2 separate regions of the Homo sapiens genome follow, and region 2 is linked to region 1. Evidence: promoter capture Hi-C in human tissues and cell types (Jung and others, 2019). All regions are on one chromosome and are shown on one strand. The core of a region is centred on a gene start or on the middle of the fragment in contact, and the rest is flanking DNA. Distances in the headings are between cores, read along the strand shown. Region 1 holds the start of ARID3C (AT-rich interaction domain 3C). Region 2 overlaps CNTFR (ciliary neurotrophic factor receptor).

Evidence for each region. Contacts are between HindIII fragments. The study calls those that stand out against the background at their distance.
Region 2: a contact is called between a fragment that was not itself captured here and the fragment with the promoter of ARID3C in region 1, in 1 of the 25 tissues and cell types used here (neural progenitor cells).

Annotation. Positions count from the first base shown.
Region 1 is chr9:34,627,768-34,630,594 of GRCh38, reverse strand. It overlaps ARID3C (AT-rich interaction domain 3C), which reads left to right and starts at 1,529. Exons shown (of 8, transcript NM_001017363.4): 1 at 1,529-1,678; 2 at 2,509-2,827. The coding sequence starts at 2,581. RefSeq lists silencers at 1,411-1,570, 1,621-1,720. The HindIII fragment of the contact is 10,650 bases long and covers 1-2,827 here.
Region 2 is chr9:34,574,915-34,577,771 of GRCh38, reverse strand. The region is part of intron 2 of CNTFR (ciliary neurotrophic factor receptor); the gene reads left to right. All of the region lies in intron 1 of CNTFR-AS1 (CNTFR antisense RNA 1), which reads right to left. Among named protein-coding and RNA genes, the nearest start is that of CNTFR-AS1, 8.3 kb to the right of the region's middle. The HindIII fragment of the contact is 3,588 bases long and covers 1-2,857 here.

The DNA of each region.
Region 1 (2,827 bases), core at 280-2,779:
GAGTGGACTGATTGGGAGAGGACAAGGGAGGAGGGAGGAGACAAAGGTCGTGTTTGGATTCCTGCCTTCTGGGGGTGTGAGGTCAGAAGACAGTCTCTGGTGCCACAGTTTCATACCTATGCCAAGTGTCACCCCTACAGACACCTGCTGTTCACTTACACACTTGGCATCACCTCACAGTGTCCCTCTGTTTGGTAAGTGGTCCCCTTGGGCACAGGAAGAAATAGGAAGTATGAGGATTCCCGGGAGGAGTGGGGTCCAGGCTGTTCAGAGCAGAAATTCTGAGAGGCCTGCCACTCAGAACCCCCAAATAAGGAACAGCATTTCAGCGTCTTGGGAATAGTTAGGGGGAGGGCGCAAAGCAGTGGGCTGAGGGGGTCTGGAGATACAGATGTGGCAGTCAGGCACACATAGGTGGAGAATGTGTGTGAACATGGGCGAAGTGCCGGTCACTGTTGAAACAAACCTATGATGAGTACCAGAGGTTCATTATACTATTCACTTGTCTATGTTTCAAAATTTTCATAATACAGGCTGGGTACGGTAGCTCATGCCTGTAATCCCAGCACTGTGGGTGGCCAGGGTGGGTGGATCACTTGAGGTCAGGAGTTCGAGACCAGCCTAGCCAAAATGGTGAAACCCCATCTCTACTAAAAAGACAAAAATTAGCCGGGTCTGGTGGTGGACGCCTGTAATCCCAGCTAATTCCAGCTATTCGGGAGGCTGAGGCAGTAGAATCACTTGAACCTGGGAGGCGGAGGCTGCAGTGAGCCCAGATCGCGCCACTGCACTCCAGCCTGGGTGACAGAGACTCTGTCTCCAAAAAAGAAAAAAAAGAAAAGAAAGAAAAAGAAAAGAAAAGAAAATTTCCATAATAGAATGTCAAAAGAGACAAAAACTGTGTGTGGCTGTGTATCTGCATGCGGTGAGTGTGCAGTCAGCTTAAAGACCTCTGAGAGTGTGTGAGTGCATAGGTGTGGGTCCACCACCATGTGCACTCATGTGTGCAAACCGCAGCATGCCCGCAGTGGGGGACAGCACGTAGGCAGGGCAGGGGTGCTCAAGGCAAAGGGAGAAGCTTCTATTCTGACCAGACCCTCCACGCACACCCCAGCATCTTGCAGAGGGATTCCCCTCTTGATCACAGCGTGCCCAGGCCATTGGCACTGTGGTGACCATGTCACGGAACGTGTGAGACTGGGAAGCTATGCGCCTGAACTTGTGACAAGGTGTGTTGGTGTGTGGATGCGGCTATTTGTATGTGGAAGCCCAGTGCCGAGTGTGGGTGTCGGGGGCACGACTTGTGAGGCTGGGCGGGGCTCTGGTCCGGAGTCCGGTGGCGGTAGAGCCCTCATTTTCGCACGATTCCCCCGCAGCTTTCCAGCGCCCCCTGCCCCCGAAGCTGGCTGGAAAGAAGGTGGGAGACACCTGTTGGGGAGCTGAGAGCGGCAGATCCCACAGGGGCCTCTCCCCATGCGCCCCGCCCGCCCTGCCCCGCTCGGGTCCCGCCCCCGCGGCCGCCGCAAGCAGCGCGGCGAGTGAGCGCACAGCCGCCAGAGGAGCACAGGGCGGCGGGAGCGCACCGCCGGGACCCAGCCGAGGCCAGGGCCGCCTGGGAGGCGGGCGGAGCAAAGGCAGCGCCGTGGAGACGCCAGGGGCAGCGGGCCACGCCAGGCAGGTGAGTGCGGCCGCGGGGCGCCCGGAGCGAGGGAGCCGGGCGTCGCGACTCTGCCGCCTCCTGCCCGTCCGGTCCCGTGCCCGTCCCAGGCTCTGCCCCACCGCCCTCCATCCCCGCGACTCCTTGGTCCCTGTCCTCTGCCCCTCTCTCCGGCTGTTTTTCCCGTCCCTGTCTCTGTCGGTCCCTCTCTATTTAACTGTCTCTTTCTAATCTCTCTCTTCTGTCCGTTTCCTGCTGTCTTGGTCTTTCCCTATATCTCAACCCCTGTCTATTTGTCTATCTCCGCCTCTGTCTCTCCGTCTCTGTCCGTCTCTGAGCTACCTGTCACTTAGGTCTTTTATCTGTTGCTCCTCTACCTCTCTTACCCTCCCTGTCTCTCTACCCAATATTCTATCTCTCTCCATCTCTGTCTGTCTACCCTGTCTCTGCCTGATACCTCTGCCTCTCTCCATCTTGGTCCCTCTCAGTCTCTGTGTCACCCCACTTCTGTCTCTCCTTGTCACCCTGTTCCATCTCTATTTTCACATCTCCCTGTCATTGTCTCTGTCGGACATCCCCCTTCTCCTTTTCTTTCTCTCTCCCTTCCTTCACCATTTCCCGATGTCTCTTGGTCCCCGTCACCCTCTCTGATCTGCTCACTCTTCCAGTCCTCAGTCAATGGCCATTTGATTCCCCGGGTCTGGTCCTGTTTCTGTTCACCTCTGGGAAAGCCATCTTTCTGCCTCTTTCCTTGTGACCCCTGCACTTCCCTGAATCCATGACCACCTCCCCCTGTGTTGGGGGGCTCTGGGGGCAGTAGGGCCCAGCACCCATAATTCCCTCCCCCACAGGCGGCCCTTTCCTCGGGGTCCCGCCTGGTACCAGGGACCCCCTCAGCTGGGGGACTGCGCCTGGAAGCTGTCATGGAGGCCCTGCAGAAGCAGCAGGCAGCTCGGCTGGCCCAGGGGGTGGGGCCATTGGCCCCTGCATGCCCGCTGCTGCCACCGCAGCCTCCCCTGCCTGACCACCGGACCCTACAGGCCCCTGAGGGGGCCTTGGGGAATGTTGGGGCTGAGGAAGAGGAAGATGCTGAAGAAGATGAGGAGAAGCGGGAGGAAGCCGGGGCAGAGGAGGAGGCAGCTGAGGAGAGCCGTCCAGGGGCCCAGGGCC
Region 2 (2,857 bases), core at 251-2,750, 53 kb after region 1:
GGTCCCAGGGATGGGGCCGGGGCCCATTGGCTGCAATCGGACCAGGCCTCTGAGAGGGGAGGGGGCTCTGGCTGTGTCCATTGGCCTGGGGGAGGGGACCACCGCCTGAGTGGAAGGGGGGCTACAGAGAGAGAGGCCCAGCGTGTGGGGGTGACATCTAGACAGAGGGGATGAGCTCCTGATATCTTTCTTTTCTCACATCCTGTGGGCCTCTTGCCTGGTTTCATTTGATCCCCAAAGCCTGGCTTCATTTGTCCACACCTCCTAGCTAACTTTAGTCCCCACTGCCTGATTTCATTTGGCTCCCACCACCTACCTTCTTTGGGGCCCTGTCACCTGGTTTCCTTACACCCTGCTGCCTGGTTTCTTTTGTCCCCACTGCCCCCTTCCCCGAAGTCCCTATCACCTGGCTTTATGGCATTACCCCTGCCTGGTTTCCTTAGGTCCTGCCTGTCTTCCGTGGAGTCACGTCAGGCTCCTTTTAGGATGGAGGCATCAGGGCCCCAGCTACACCTGGAGTGGCAAGTGGCAAGGATGTCTGCAGCATTGCCGATCTTTCCTGGGCTGGGGCCTGGCCAGCACAGCCTGGATTCCATTCTGACTGGACAGCGACTCCGCGTCTACTCCTCCAGTGATGGGGGCGGGGCTGCAGGGTCCAAGGACACCTTAGGACTCTCCTCCTCAGTGGTTAGTTAGAGGAGCACCGCTGGCTCTGCCTGCTCCCCTCCTGCTGCTGGGCATCTGCCCTACCTCTCTGTGGGCTGACAGTGATGCCAGGGCTTTGGTGGGGGCTGGGGGGCTGGAGTGGAGGTCTCATCTCCTTCCCTTCTCCTGCCCTTTCTGCAGCCAGGCCAGACATCTGGGTGCCCGCTAGACAGTTATGGGCACATAGAGGTTTTGAAGAGGCCTTGGGATCACACAGCAGATAGCTAGGCTGAGAGCTGCTGCCGATCCGCATCGTGGGGAAGAGAGGGTGATGAGGGAAGGCAGCAAGGGCCTGGGAAGTCGGCTGATTTCTGGGCCTTTCTGGCTCTTGCTGATTCCAGTGCCACCATCTGTCTCCCCCAGGTACTTCCTTCACCTCTCCTGTCTGGAATGGATCTCCCTTCATTCCCTAATGCTGTTGAAAGCAGGGTTTGGGGAAGAAGGAGCTGCCTGGGGAATAATCATTTATTTTCTCACTTTTTAGGGACCAACGAAGTATTTCCTTTCCTTTTCTTTCCTGCCCTAGGCATCCCTAGGCTTTCTGTCCCTCCCCTCAGGCACGGCTAGGCAACCTGAGGTGCTGGCACAGTGTGGCTGTTCAGGGTGTGTATGTGGGTGTTTCCCATTGCCGGTGTCGGGGCGTGAGAGGCCAAGGGCGACTGGGGGCCCTGAGCTTCTGGAAGTGTACAATGGTGTCTGTGTGGAAGGTTGACTGTTCGGAGTGTGTGATGGTATCCATATGTGAGACCATGGCTGTGTGAGGGAGTCTGTGTGTGTGAGTGTGACTGTAATGTGTGCACGCACACCAGCGTGTACGGGGCTGTGGGAGTGGGTGTCCATGTGGGAGGCCCTGATGTGTGGCCACGATGGTAGGCTCTGAATGCCAGTGTCTGCGAGAGGCTGCCTGGGTGTGTCTGTGAAGCTCTGGCCCTGTGTGTCTGAGGAGGCGGGGGCTTTGAGAGCTCTGCCGGGTGTAGTGAGAGCCCAAGTGTGTGCTCTGTCTCGGGGTGAAGTGAGCGCTGGGTGCTCTGTGGCCTGAGTGGCTGGTGTGTGTGTGAGCACGTGTGTGCACGTACTCACGCCTGTGTTTACCCATCAGGAACAGATTGCTGTGGCTTCCCCACTGTGAGGAGGGGAGGAAAGGGGAGGAAGGATGGCTCGGTCTTGCCCAGCAGACCAGGAGGCTCCTCAGAAGTAGCGTGCATGGTGCATATGCACGTTAGGGGGCAGAGAGAACAGAACACAGAAGACATTTGAAGCTTCTTTTCCCCCCACCCAACTCTGGCTCTGTCAGAACGACCATCTTCAGGTTTTTTTTGTTATAAGCCGATGCATCACATGCACTGCTGCCCCCACCCCCCGGGGTGTGTGTGTGTGTGGGTGGGTGGGTGGGTGGGTGTGTGTGTGAGCTTGCTTGCATGGGCCTCTGTGTATGGATTCAAGGGTGTGTCTGCACCATAGCAGTGATGGGGCCAGGGGTGGGTGTGGTAGGAGATGCTGAGGCAAATAGGTCTTTGTCCTAATCTCCAACTCTGGAAAGCCATTCTATCCATCCTTGTCTCCACGGAGGGCCCTGCCTTGCAGCCTCCTTCCTGTCCCCGGCGTCCGCTTCGGGCCTTTCCTTACCCCACCCCCCTGCTAAGGGAAGTCTCAGTCAACCCTATTGCTCTGCCCATCCCCTGCCTTTCGTTGAGTTCTTCCAGCTGTCTAATGTGCTACAGCGTTCTGTCCCTACAAGAGGAGCAGTACCCCGCTCCCCACAGACTTAGCCTAACTGGTGTGTGTGCCTTTCCTGGGTGGAGGGGGCTTCCTGATTCTTCTGGAAGCCAGAAGAGACTGGACTGGGGTTGGGGGCTGGGGGATTTGGCACCAGTACCTCAGGTTCTGTGAAGCTCTCCAGAGCCTATGTGTCCAAAGGGAGGATACGAACTTATCTGCCCCTTCCTCCTCTCCATTCAAGAGGCAGGGGGCTGGACCAGATGACTTTTGAGGGTGAAAGCCCAGGCCTTCTGCATCTAGAGGGCTACTTAAGCACAGGCCTGCATGTATGTGCATATACAAGCCCATGCCCAGGTCACCAGGCAGCATGCGGGGCCCCAAGTGGGCCTCCACATGTGGGCACAGGCTGGTGACAGATTCCTCTCTCCCCAGG